Regions from separate parts of the Homo sapiens genome. Here regions 1, 2, 3 and 5 are each linked to region 4. The links are contacts of gene promoters, found by promoter capture Hi-C in blood cells and fetal thymus (Javierre and others, 2016). All regions are on one chromosome and are shown on one strand. Each heading gives the region's core, a stretch centred on a gene start or on the middle of the fragment in contact. The rest is flanking DNA. Distances are from core to core; before and after follow the strand shown. Region 1 has its middle 1.6 kb from the start of BNIP2. Region 2 has its middle 72 kb from the start of AQP9. Region 3 overlaps LOC124903499 (a long non-coding RNA gene). Region 4 holds the start of ADAM10 (ADAM metallopeptidase domain 10). Region 5 overlaps BNIP2 (BCL2 interacting protein 2).

The links. Contacts are between HindIII fragments. The CHiCAGO score rates a contact against its expected background, and 5 or more counts as called.
Region 1: a contact is called between a fragment that was not itself captured here and the fragment with the promoter of ADAM10 in region 4, in 4 of 17 cell types (total B cells, naive B cells, neutrophils and 1 more). The highest score is 8.2, in total B cells.
Region 2: a contact is called between a fragment that was not itself captured here and the fragment with the promoter of ADAM10 in region 4, in 3 of 17 cell types (megakaryocytes, erythroblasts and M1 macrophages). The highest score is 8.4, in megakaryocytes.
Region 3: a fragment that was not itself captured here is called in contact with the fragment with the promoter of ADAM10 in region 4 in 13 of 17 cell types (M2 macrophages, megakaryocytes, M0 macrophages and 10 more); the score reaches 17.8 in M2 macrophages.
Region 5: a fragment that was not itself captured here is called in contact with the fragment with the promoter of ADAM10 in region 4 in 1 of 17 cell types (non-activated CD4 T cells); the score reaches 5.2 in non-activated CD4 T cells.

The regions. Positions count from the first base shown.
Region 1 is chr15:59,689,611-59,692,310 of GRCh38, forward strand. No RefSeq gene overlaps it. Among named protein-coding and RNA genes, the nearest start is that of BNIP2, 1.6 kb to the left of the region's middle. RefSeq lists an enhancer at 1-64. The HindIII fragment of the contact is 1,281 bases long and covers 621-1,901 here.
Region 2 is chr15:58,209,038-58,211,737 of GRCh38, forward strand. No RefSeq gene overlaps it. Among named protein-coding and RNA genes, the nearest start is that of AQP9, 72 kb to the left of the region's middle. The HindIII fragment of the contact is 4,167 bases long and covers 1-2,700 here.
Region 3 is chr15:58,226,925-58,229,624 of GRCh38, forward strand. All of the region lies in intron 1 of LOC124903499 (a long non-coding RNA gene), which reads left to right. Among named protein-coding and RNA genes, the nearest start is that of AQP9, 90 kb to the left of the region's middle. The HindIII fragment of the contact is 8,324 bases long and covers 1-2,700 here.
Region 4 is chr15:58,748,394-58,751,093 of GRCh38, forward strand. ADAM10 (ADAM metallopeptidase domain 10) reads right to left here and starts at 1,314. Exons shown (of 16, transcript NM_001110.4): 1 at 1,087-1,314. The coding sequence starts at 1,141. RefSeq lists enhancers at 447-1,082, 534-663, 1,754-1,933 and silencers at 774-1,063, 1,394-1,683. The HindIII fragment of the contact is 2,079 bases long and covers 39-2,117 here.
Region 5 is chr15:59,661,437-59,664,136 of GRCh38, forward strand. BNIP2 (BCL2 interacting protein 2) reads right to left here. Exons shown (of 10, transcript NM_004330.4): 10 at 1-2,684. The coding sequence ends at 2,633. Among named protein-coding and RNA genes, the nearest start is that of GTF2A2, 5.3 kb to the left of the region's middle. The HindIII fragment of the contact is 2,710 bases long and covers 78-2,700 here.

The DNA.
Region 1 (2,700 bases), core at 11-2,510, 940 kb after region 4:
CAGTTACTTTTGTTTTCTTTCTGCCTGCCTTTATTGATCATTACAGTAGGTGAAATTATCGATATCAATAATAATATTGTAATACAATAGGTGCAATTATCAATATCAATATTATTACAACAGGTGCAATTATCAGTATCATTACAATAGGTGCAATTATCAGCGATCAATAATGTGAATTATAAAATGGATGAAATAAGGGGAGGAGGTCGGGCGCGGTGGTTTACGCTTGTAATCCCAGCACTTTGGGAGGGCGAGGCGGGTGGATTACCGGAGGTCAAGAGCTCGAGACCAGCCTGGCCAACATGGTGACACCTCGTCTCTACTAAACAAACAAAAATTAGCTGGGCGTGGTGGCGCGCGTCTGTAATCCCAACTACTCAGGAGGCGAGGGCGGAGGCGGAGGCGGAGTTGGAGTTTGCAGTGAGCCGAGATCGTGCCATTGCACTCCAGCTTGGGCAACAGAGCAAAAACTCCGTCTCAAATAAAAGGAAAAAGGAAAAAAAAAAAAAAAGAAAAAGAAAAAAAAGAAATAAGGCGAGGAAAAATATCCGAGGCATCATTTTGGGGAGTTAGGCCTCAGAAGCGACCTTAGAGTTTGGTAATATTTGAGTGTGAAAAGCTTTACAGCAGTGCTTCTCTTCACTGGGGGAACGGTCGGTTTATTTTTTTCAATTTTCAATTAGTTTTTGACAAGTTAATAAAACAGAAAAATGAAAAGACATACAAAGTCCAAGTCAAAACTTTTTATCGTTAGAGTTAACAGCCATAAAATTACCTGCAAAATTGACATAGAGTTTTCTACTCTCTCTCTGTGAACCATTTGCAAACAGTTCTCAGAAGAGCCCAGGTCTATAGACCATGGTTAGAGTACTCAAGGTAAACTACTCAAATTAGACCATACTCAGCTGTAGAGTTTCAACCAAATGAGATTTGTTTGGAGAACATCATAGTCTCTCTCAGTTGGGCGTGCTGGCTCATGACTGTAATCCCAGCACTTTGAGAGGCCGAGTCGGTAGATCGCCAGACCTCAGGGCAACATGGCGAGACCCCATCTCTTAAAAAAAAAAAAAAAAAAAGAGACAGAGAAAGAAAGAAAGAAAAAGAAGCAAAGAGAAAGAAAGGAAGAAAGAAAGAAAAGAAGAAAATTAGGTGGGCTTGGTGGCATGCACCTGTGGTCCCAGCCACTTGGGAGGCTGAGGTGGGAGACTCTCTGGAGCCTGGCAGGCGGCGGTTGTAGTGAGCCAAGATCGCGCCACTCCACTCCAGCCTGGGTGACAGCGAAACCCTGTCTTAAAAAAAAAAAAAAGTCCCTTTCCAAAGTTTCATCTGATAAATCCATAGAAAGGCTCAGCATCAAGTATTTGGGTGATTCCATTGGGGTACGATCAGGCCTGAGGGGAACAGAAAAGCTCAAAATTTTAAATCATTGACTAAAAATGCAGCATTCTGCCTGGATTTCACATTGCTTTGGCAACATTTACCCACCATTGGTAGATTAAAGTCCGTCTCTTTGATAAAATGGGAAGAAAATAGTACCTACCTTATAGGGTTTTTGTGAGATGAATTCATATATATGTATTAGGACCTTGGTTGTCATATTGTAATCACATTTAAGTATTAGGTATTCTTTTTATCCTAGTCTAGCAATTTCACTAAATAGCTAGTAGAGAAAACAAAACTGATCAACAGAGCTTTAGCTAAACAACTACTTGGGCCAAGAAATTTCATCTTGATTTACAGAAGTTTTTGTAGTTTCATACTTTGCTTCTTCAGTTCTGCAATGTGCAGAATTCCCCACAGGGTGGCAGAAAATCACTGGAAATCATATATAGTTATGTGATTTCTTTTTTTTAAGATCTTCAGTTCCTTCTTCATTTTAGTAACTTTATTATTTAATAAGCTTGATCAGTGTTTGCTTTGGTTTCGAGTAAGCCATCCTATTACTTATCTTTTTATCCCTATCTTGTTAATTATCCATACTTATTGTTGAAACATTACAAACTACAAGTAAGCCAAAAAGATAATTATTATTAACATATTTATGTATAGCCTTTCAGATTATATATATATATATATTCACACACATATATATTTTATGTATAAATTGCACATATAAGTCTTTATAAAAATCAGATAATGTACTTAGTGGTTTATAATCTCCATTTTCTTCTTTTCATTTAAAATATGAGCTGGGTGCAGTGGCTCACACCTGTAATCCCAGCACTTTGGGAGGCTGAGGTGGGTGGATCACCCGAGGTCAGGAGTTCGAGACCAGCCTGGCCAACGTGGAGAAACCACGTCTCTACTAAAATTACAAATATCAGCTGGGTATGGTGGTGGGCACCTGTAATCCCAGCTGCTTGGGGGTGCTGAGGTAGGAGAATCACGTGAACTCAGGAGGTGGAGGTTGCAGTGAGCCAAAATCACACCATGCACTCTAGCTTGGGCAACAGAGTGAGACTGTGTCTCAAAAATAAATAAATAAATAAAAATACAGATTCTGAGGCTTCACCCTCTACAGTCTATGGAAAGATATGGGAATCTATATTATAAAAATAAATAATTAAAATATATTATGAACTCTTTTTCAAGTCAATAAATACATTCCAATGCTATTATTTTCATTATGGATAATGTATATATTAAACAATCCTTTATTGAACTTTTAGATTGTTCCTTTTTTTTTTTTCTTTTGAG
Region 2 (2,700 bases), core at 130-2,629, 540 kb before region 4:
GCCATATGACCCAGCAGATCCAATGGTGCTTGAGGTGTGTGGCTGTTAGGGATGCTATTTGGAGCCTTTGGCAGGCCCCCAAAAGTGAATCACAGCGGAGGCCTCTAGGATTTTGGAGCAAGGCCCTGCCATCTTCTGCAGATAACTACTCTCCTTGGGAGAGACAGCTCTTGGCCTGTTATTGGGCTTTGGCATAAACTGAACATTTGACTATGAATCATCAAGTCACCATGTGACCTAAACTGCCTATTAAGAACAGAGTACTTTCTGACCCATCTAGCCATAAAGTGGGTCATGCACAGCAGCATTCCGTCATCAAAGGAAGTGGTACATATGTGATCAGGCTCAAGCAGGTCCTGAAGGCACAAACAAGTTACTTGAGGAAGTAACTCAAATGCCCATGGTCTCCACTCCTGCCACCCTGCCTTCTCTCTCGTAGCCTGCACCGACGGCCTCATGGGGAGTTCCCTATGATCACCTGACAGAGGAAGAGAAGACAGTGGAATGGCCTTTTGAAGTAACAATTACAATGCCAACTAGGTGACAATACTTTGAGGGGCTGGGGTAAAGTTCTCCAGAAGGCTGTGTATGCTCTGAATCAGCATCCAGTATATGGCACTGTTTCTCCCATAGCTAGGATTCATGGGTCCAGGAATTAAGGGGTGGAAGTGGAAGTGGCACCATTCACCATCACCCCTAGTGATCCACTAGCAAAATTTTTGCTTCCTGTTCCCAGGACATTACTCTCTACTGGCCTAGAGGTCTTTGTTCCAGAGGGAGGAACCCTGCCACGAGGAAACACAACAATGATTCCATTAAACTGGAAGTTAAGATTGCCACCTGGACTCTTTGGGCTCCTCCTAGCTTTAAGGCAACAGGCTAAGAATGGAGTTACAGTATTGGCTGGGGTGGTTGACCCGGACTATCAAGATGAAATCAGTCTACTACTACACAACAGAGGTAAGGAAAAGTATGCATGGAATACAGGAGATTCATTAGGGTGTCTCTTAGTATTACCATGCCCTGTGATTAAGGTCAATGGGAAACTACAACAGCCCAATTCAGGCAGGACTACAAATGACTCAGACCCTTCAGGAATGAAGGTTTGGGTCATTCCACCAGGAAAAAACCACGACCTGCTGAGGTGCTTGCTGAAGGCTAAGGGAATACAGAATGGGTAGTAGAAGAAGGTAGTCATCAATACCAACTACGACCACATGACCAGCTGCAGAAACAAGGACTGTTTAACTGTCATGAGTATTTCCTCCTTTTGTTAAAAACATGTTTGTGCATGTATATACTTGTACTAAGAAAATATCTTCATTTTATTTCCCTTCTCCTTTATCACGTGACATAAGATTTTATTGATTTCCCATCCGCATTTAAGCATTGTTAACTTTAAGTAATAGTATTTGGGTTGGGGATTGGTGTGTTTCCGGTTGTATGAAGAATAGTTGCATTATGTTAGGCATAATTATGACCTTATTATTGTCTTTATTTGAAGATTATGTATGACCTCAGGAGATGTGTGTGGGTTCAAGTTGACAAGAGGTGGACTTGCGATGGTTAATACTGAGTGTCAACTTGATTGGACTGAAGGATGTAAAGTCTTGATACTGGGTGTGTCTGTGAGGGTGTTGCCAAAGGAGATTAACATTTGAGTCAGTGGGTTGGGGAAGGCAGATGACCCTTAATGTGGGTGGGCATAATCTAATCAGCTGCCAGCACAGCTAGAGTATAAGCAGGCAGAAAAATGTGAAAAGAGAGGCTGGTCTAGCCTCCCAGGCTACATCTTTCTCCCGTGCTGGATGCTTCCTGCCCTCAAACATCAGATTCCAGGTTCTTCAGTTTTGGGACTTGGACAGGCTCTCCTTGCTCCTCAGCTTGCAGATAGCCTGTTGTGGGACTCTGTCACACAATAAACCCATATATATATATATATTCCAAGGACTCTTTCATGTCTTATGTTATATACCCAGGCATTTCCTCTCAACTTTTTATTTTGAAAAATTTCAAGTGTATAGAAAAGATAAAGGAATTGAACTATATATATATATATATATATATATATATATATATATATGAGTTTATTAAGTATTAACTTACACCAGAGCACTCCAACACCAGCTGCCAAATGACTGCAAATGCAAGCGATATTCAAAGGGAGACAAATGGAAGAATCACCTAGCCGAATCCAGTCAACACACACTATCATGAGAGATAATAATGCAGTAAATTATTTTTTAAGCAACTGCATTTGGGTGATTTGTTATACAGCAATATTGTATTAGTCAGGGTTCTCTAGAGGGACAGAACTAGTAGGAGACATGTCTCCTACTAGTTCTATCCCTGTAGAGAACCCTGAATAATATATATATGTCTATATATATTAGACATATATATATGTAACCCTGACTATATATACACACACACACATATATATATATATATGTCTTCTACTAGTTCTGTCCCTCTAGAGAACCCTGACACCAGTTGGCAGCTGGTGCTGGAGTACTCTGGAGACCCACGGGGCTGGAACATCCAACATGGCTTCTCCACGTTCTTCTCCATGTGGTATCGCATGCCCCGGTATCTCATCTCTCCAGCAGGCTAGCTGAACTTCTTTTTTTTTTTTTTTTTTTTTTTTTTTTTGAGACAGAGTCTTACTCTGTCACCCAGGCTGGAGTGCAATGGCACGAT
Region 3 (2,700 bases), core at 16-2,515, 520 kb before region 4:
GGAAAAGCTGGGCGTGTGGAGAGTGAGGGTTGGGGGCTTGCAAGGGGTCCTGGCAAGTGAGAAGACCAGTGGGCTCAGAGGGAATTAGAATTCCGTGATATATTCCAAGGAAACTCAGGCCTAGGATCTAAATGGAGAATGGAATGCAGCCAGGGGCTGGGAAGTATGAACTGGAATCTTTGCCTTCAATTTGCACATGATAACAATGCCCCTGAGACTAACATCTGGATAACAGAGCACTTGTACACACAGCATCTTGTTTGACTCTTATACCCACCTGGTAACATATAATTATGATCTCAATTTTACAGACCAGGAAAGCTAGCCCTAGGGAAGTGAAATGACTTTCCCCAAAGAAGCAGCAATAAGTGGGCTTTGAGTCTTCTGATCCCAGAGTATGTTGATGATAAAATAACTCATGAACTTTAGCAATTATTTCAGAATTCTCATGCTGCGGAATTAACAAAATAAAAAGAAAATAAAGAATATATAAGAAAAAAAGATGTACCTATGTAAAAGCAACCCCACTTACATCCCCTAGTGTGAACTCCTAATCCTTGGGCCTAAAAATTGTGGAACTCGGTATGATAATGGACATGATGAATTGTGTCTGATTAATAAATTTCTTACAAGTTTTATTTATTATAACCTAAAAAAATCTATACACATGATATTTTCACACGTCATGTTCTTCATGGTATCTGCTTACAATAGTTGCATATTCTCTAAGGGACTGCAGTATTCAATTATTTTATTAGGTTCATAATACTTCACAAGATAAAGCATAAAGCAAATATAAAGAGATGGTTTTTGCTCCAAATTGATGCTGAATTCTAAATAAGGACGATAGTATGTGACAAATTAATATCTTTATAATTTGGCTTGTAAGATACAATTCCCAAAAGTGAGGCTCTTACCACACACAAAAATATGGAGACGGGAGGGAGGAACCCGACTTAATTTAGGTACACTGCCACCAGGTGGAGGCAGAGTGCCACGGACTGTGAAGTCCAAAACAATAGGTGGAGGATTTGTTAAAATTACAGACTGTAGCTCTGGGTTCAAACCCTACAGACTTGTAATCACAAACGTTTCCATTTTTTATGTATTAGAAACATTTACTGGAAAATAAAATTCAAGCTAGCGATATACAAACATTTAAAATAGCTCTTTAGAAGGACTTTACAAACTAAAACTATAGTTATACATCTTTCCCTTCAATCTCTTAAGGTTCTTTTTCTCACAAACACCTTCAAAGAAGGTGACTATTGATCCCTCCTAATGTTGTTTTAGTGTGAAACCCCTAAGATATCTGGAATGGGTTTGGTGAAAACTTCCAAAGCTCCATTTCAAGCTCTGACCTCTTAGTCTCTCCTTCTCTCAGCCAGTATAAGAAATAGCGGTGAAGGGAATTGGAAGGATAGTGGTGGTGAAGGCTATGGAGGGAGACCGACTGTCCCAGTTTACCCAACACTGCCCCAGTGTTAGCACTGAAAGTCCCACACCCAGGGGCACCCCTACTCCCAAGCAGACCAAAAGAAAAATATAGGCTTTCATTTCAGACTTGCTGCTCTAAGACCTTCATCTCTTCCCAATAGAAAAAAGCCAAATACTCCCCTATCTGATGAACCCCTCGAATCTCATGTATAAAAACCCTCCTTCGGTGTGAGTCTTTGCTGTGAGGTTAAGATTGTGCTTTGTATTTTAGGTGGAGGCAGGTATGATGTGTAGTAGATACACAAATGTATAGAGGCTGGTGAAGTTGCAGCGGGGAGCAGGTAGACCAGCTGTTTCAGGTAAACAGACAGGTCCTCAAGGAAGTCCCTCAGTTTATCATGCCAACCTCTTTGGACACCTTGAGGCCTCTGATGAGGCTGCTGGTGGCAGGGAAGCAGGAGAGAATCTGCTCCAGCTGACACAGGATGTGACTCTGGAACAGAGGCTGGAGGCTCCTGGAAGGGATATATTTAGCCCAGCTCTGTTAATAGCTGACCCCTTGGATTGCCTCAGGAATGTAGCAGGCAGAGTTCTTCATGGTGAAATAAGACGTACAGGCTTACAACTTGAAAAGAAAACTCTTCAAGGAATGACCTTACAAAGAATGACTCCACAGGGACCAGATGAAAATGTTAATGTTATTTTGTGCATTGCTTTCCTGAGCACTTTATATCCATTATATTCATTTCCTGTATTCTTTCATGTAATTGGTACAACCATAATTTAGCTTTTCTTCAGGGCAAGAGTTCTTTGTCAAGTTCATGTTCTCGGGCAGAGTCCTAACAAATCCTGCAGGTATACTACACCTGGTACCTGCCGACGCCTATTGAGGAGGAAAGCCACAGGATGTGGTAACATTCTCAAAAACAGAGATCTAGTTAGAATTACCTCCAAATCCTGCAAAGAATGAAACGGAGATGCTGACCATGGGAGCAATGTCCCACTGGGATGGCAGGGAGATCTCACGTGGTGCCTACCAGGGAGGGGGGTGGGGGGCGGAGTTGGGGGCGGGGGGAGCACGGGAGTTCCGAGTGCTGAAGACTGCAATGGGAACAGACAAGGAACAAGGCGACACAATGGCACAAACAATGCTAGAACAAGACATTTATTTATTGAATCTGAAGCAGGAGAACTGAAGACAGCTGAGAAATATGGTTGAGTTCCTAACTCGACAATGAATAAGCAGACTGTAATTTACAATTG
Region 4 (2,700 bases), core at 64-2,563:
CCTTGAGGTTTTTAAGTTTACTCTGGGGCAAGTCAAAAAGCTTACCTAAAATAAAGCACTTTAAGCAAGAATAAAATGATGCAGCTGGTCCTAGAACACACCGGAAATAAAAATCGTTGTCTTCAAAACCCGAAACAAGAAATGACATGCTTTTAGCAAATTTGACTTTCATGTGCAGGGGGGAGGGGGCACTGTTTTGACAATCCACTAACTACACTGTACATCTACTCCACCTGAAAGTTTAACGAAACTCTTCAAGTTGGGTCACCCAGGGACCGAACTTCTACTCTAAGAGACCCAATCCAGCCTACAAATCAAAGAACATCCCCAAATGGTTTACCCTTCTCCCGACCAAACCCTTTCCCCTGGGCGACAGAATGTTTTCAAGAACACCAACACACCCTCCTGTGATCTCTCTCCAAACACAGGACACAGGAAGAACCGAGGCCACTAGTCTCAGATAAGCGGGTGATGACTGCTGCCACTCCACGGGCGGCCCCTCTGCAGAATGGGGTCGGTCAGGACCGGCGCGCCGGGTAAAGAACAATACACGAGCCCAGCTGCAAACAACACAACTTCCCACGAGTCTGCGCGGCGGGTCTCGGCGGCGGAGAGGACTTCGGAATCCGCCACCGGGCAGGGGCTGGGGGAGGAATGGTGAGCAGGATGAGCGCTGAACGAGGACGGCGAGACCGCCAGCCTCGCTGCGGCTGCCTGCACCGGCGCCCGCCGAGCAGACTGGAGGGATGCAGCCACCAGCCTGGGTTCCACCGCTCTCACCAGGCGACGCGGATGCCCCGACTTCGCTTCTCTGGGAGGCGACCCCCGCCTCCCGGGGCCGCCAGGGCGGTGGGGGGCGGGGAAGGCCTCGCCGGAGGCTTGGGAGCCTCCTCGGCCCGCCACCGAAGGGAAAGCGGTCGGGGCGCGGGGGACAATAGGGAGCGGGGAGCGCGGCCCGCCAGAGTGGCGCCGCTGGCCGGCTGGGCTGACTGACGCGCACGCCGCGAGGCGCGACTGGGCTCCGCTCGGCCCGGCCGCCGCTCCGCCGTGGTCGCGGCGCCCCCGGCGCTCGCAGTCGTGCCTCACCTCCCATCCCCGCCGCCCAGGAGAGGAGCAGAATTAACACTCTCAGCAACACCATCTTCCGCTGCCGCTGCCGCCGCCGCCGCCTCCTCACGGGTTAACAGCAGCACATCGATCCGGAGGGAGAAGCTGAAGGGGCTTGGTCCGGAGCCTCCACGGGAAGCCGGGACCTCCCCTGGCAGGAGAAACGGCGAAGCACCTCCCTCTCGCTCCACTTCAGGGGCCGGCAACGCTCCTAGCTCCTCCAAAACAGGGACCTCCCTCCCCCTCGTTCGTTTCCTTCCTCCTTTCCCCGCTTTCCTTCCCTTGCTCGTTCCCTCTTCTCTCCCCCCCTCCTTCGAAACTCAGACCTCCGCCTCCTTCCTCACCACGTGACGCGCGGGCACCCAACTGGCACGCGGAGCCGCGCCCCTACCTCCCGCCCCTACCCGTCCCCCAGGCGCTTCAGGGGCGCGCGCATGCGCGCGGGGGACGGTTCCCGTGCTGCTAGGCCTGCCGCCGCTTCCTGTCCGCCGGCGGAGAGCTGGGATTGGGCTTGGGAGGCGGGGTTTGTCCTGGTCCCGCCCCGGGGCGGGAGCGCTCCTACGCGGAGATAGTGCTCCGCTACGTGTTAGAGCTGCTGAGGACCTTCCCTTGGGCTAAAATGGTCCGTGGAAGATGTAAGCAGGGCTGCTTTCGACTTCTTAACGTCACAAGTAACAGAGGTTTTTTTTCTTCTTTTTCTGCCTCTCTTGGTGCACCACAGCTACCAAGTAAACAAAAAGTCCCAACAAGCAGTAATTATAGCGGCAGCTGCCCCAGTGATGCGAACATAAATGCAAAGACCTTCAAGCAGCAGGAAAAAAAGACACCATGTCCGAGATGTAATTTTCCGAGCTCTTTACAAATTTATGTCACAGACTAAGGCTTTAGCCTTTGCAAAAGCATGCAACCTGAACCAGACTGTCTTGAATCTCCAGTCCAGAAAATGTCCTCTTTTCTCTCTGTCACATCTTTGAAGCGAATCCACGCACATCTTCTCCCCAACTTCTTAAAGCTTGTGTTTGTTTTCTCGTAACTCATTTTGATTCTTTAAACTTGGATGTCATGAACTAGAACTTTTTATGGCCATTTAATTAGATATTCTTCATCTATTTGGTATCGTGCTTGAGTAGGCCGAATTAGGGAGAGTGTGTGTGTGCGTGTGTGTGTGTGTGTATGTGTAAATTGTTTTGTTTTGCTTTCTAAAGACAAGGTCTCCGCTGTCTCGCCAGGCTGAAGTGCAGTGGTGTGATCATAGCTCACTGTAACCTCCAACTCAAGCCGAATTAGGGAGAGTGTGTGTGTGTGTGTGTGTGTGTAAATTGTTTTGTTTTGCTTTCTAAAGACAAGGTATCCGCTGTCTCGCCAGGCTGAAGTGCAGTGGTGTGATCATAGCTCACTGTAACCTCCAACTCAAGCGATCCTCCCGCCTCGGCCTCCCACAAGTGCTGGGATTACAGGCGTGAGCCACTGCGCTCGGCCTTAATGTTATTGATACTGTAATAAACTGGAATTCCTATACTGTTACCTGTATATTTTATACCATTTATTACCATTAACATAAGTGAAGAGAATTTTTTTTTTTTTGAGACGGAG
Region 5 (2,700 bases), core at 183-2,682, 910 kb after region 4:
ATCACTTTCCAATGCCTCTGCTAGACCCTACTTAGAATCATATTTCTTCATATCTCCCTCTGAGTTAAAGATTGTTAAGCTTAAATTGTGGGGTGAATAGAACGTCTTCCCTTGGTGCTTGCTTAGGAGTATGATCAAGCAGAACACAGAATCAAATTATTTCACATGAAAAACTTCTGACTAAAAAAGGGGCACTTAGAGCCTAGTGACAGAAGCATCAAATTAAGCCAGTTAAATTAGATCCATGATCCCAACAGAAAGATAAAAGTACAATCACATATACTTTCACCTTGGTCAGTAATGGGAAATTAAAATGGAATAATATGGGAAATGTTAACTTAGCTATAGATTAGAAACAACAGACTTAATAAATGCTCTTCCTCTAACCTACTATTATGATCTTAAATCTTATAAAACATTTATTGTGGGTACATCTCTATACCAGATTCCATTAAGGTGCAGGTTAAAGCAGGTATCCCTTTAGTTTACTGATTCACAGCACCTCATTTTCATTATATCCCAGGTGTTATCACTGTTGTCTCTGAATTTTAATGTTTAACAGAATAGTCTTCTACTTTTAAAAAAAATTCAGAAAAACATCACTTTTGCAACATGTATCTACAGTTAGGAGCAATGACTGCAAAATCAAAAATCAAAATAATGCAAAAAAGAGTTGAAGTTATTCTTCATATTTTTTAAACTGAAGAACCAAGTACTTAATGTGGTAGAAAACCACCTATTAAAAACCTCAGCCCATTTTGAGCAAGATAAAGATGTACAGATGAAAGACTACGTTAAATCGTCTACAAATATAGAATCTAATGACAAATTCAATATAATTGTTTATACATAATCCTTATATGGTAAATTCAGAAGGAATGCCTAACTTGTTATTGTTAGTTTGCTTCTTCAACAACAAGTGTTCCTAAAATGTGAGCAAGCAATAATCGTTTTGGCTCAATTCACTGTAATGACATTAGTTCAGGATCTGCCAAGAGCTGCTGGATCTGAGTTAAGTCAGGAGGCTGCTGAGGAATGTTTCATCCTGGGAATCCTCCAGCATCTCTCTCCTATAACTGGTTTTAAGTTAGCATGCCAAGTTTAGGACTGAGGAGGACAAAAAATATAGGAAAGTTCCCTTTTGTAACAGAAGGTTTGTAAGTACATGAGAATGGTCACAGCCACATGTGTGTTCAATCTAGGATAGACTAAATCTTGAAAGGTTAGCTCACATCCACTTCAATTTTGCTACTCTAGGCCACTGTTTTGTAAAATACCTTACAGGAAGGGTTGAAGAGTAGCCATGACCTTCAAATTTGGAAGGTATTATGCTTACCAGCTGTGTATGAGCCTTTCAAGTATATGACACAATATCAGATCAATCTGTTGTTTTAGAAATAATTTTGTCGGTAATTAAACTTTTTGTTTGGAGGCACAAACACAATTTATTTCAATGTAAAGGTACTACCAAATGAAACAGTTTAAATGCTTGTAACAAACGTGTTATCCAAAACAGCACAATATGATGATGCTAAGACTTACAAAATTAACCTAATTTACAGTATTGTCAAACATGATTTCATACAAACTTGAATAAACACCACATCTAACTAGGTCAAACAACTACCGAGTTCAAATAATTGATATGGAAGTATTTTGGTAAAGTGCCCATAGTGAGAGTTTAAAAAGCAGCCCCTGTTTTCTATAGAAAAAGTTGTGACAGTGAATAACTCATCACATTCTCTGCAATACTACTCAGCACTCATATACACTCAGGGGAGCAATACCCTGGACACATAGCTTATTTCACATTAGTGAACAAACTCAAGATTTTTATAAAGTTCTGACTTTGGGCCAGAAGATAAAATGTCCCATATATACATATATACAAACCCTAATTCCTACCCTCTTAAATCCTCTAGTTCTAAGAATGGCTTTTTGACTTGTCTTTAAGTTTAGAAAGGAAAAAGTGTGCAATGCGCTTGCATCTGTACTTGCTGAATTATGAAACAAATATGTTAAATGAGAAAAAAACCTTGGGATGGTACTAATACACTTCGATTATATACATGATCTTTGGGTATTCATGACAATCAGTTTAACCATCTGTTGCCTTATGAAAAACTTAATTTCCTAAGTTACCCAGGAAATGTATTTAACCATTTACAAAAACAAAAATTCTAATATGCACTTTAGAAAATCGTGGTCTTATATACCTGCATATTTCTTCCATAAGACAGGTACACATTAAAAAATATTGCTCAATGACATAAAAATATATATTATTTCTTTCCTTTGCCATTTATGCATATAAATATTTCACCGAAGAAGATGCATCATTCAATAAACAAATGCAAAAACTACTTTATATAAAGTGTGGTTCTCTATTTAGCAATATAAAATATAAAACGATAATAATACAGTTAGCTATTAAAGAGCTAAATTCAAGAAATTTGCAAACCAGTACAGCAGTGAACAGTCCCTTGTATAATACAAAAGTCCATTATGAAAAAGTCAAGTCTATTTTGTAACAGGTTACATAAAAATATGGGCCAATAAATGCATTATGAATGCAGAAACAGCACTGCTCCATCAGCACATTCTTCAGTCTTGTTTGGACTAGATGCCAAACTTACTGTTCATTTTTCGGTTCATCTTGTTTTCCATTAAGTTCTTGATCAACTCTGTTTAATGAAGAAT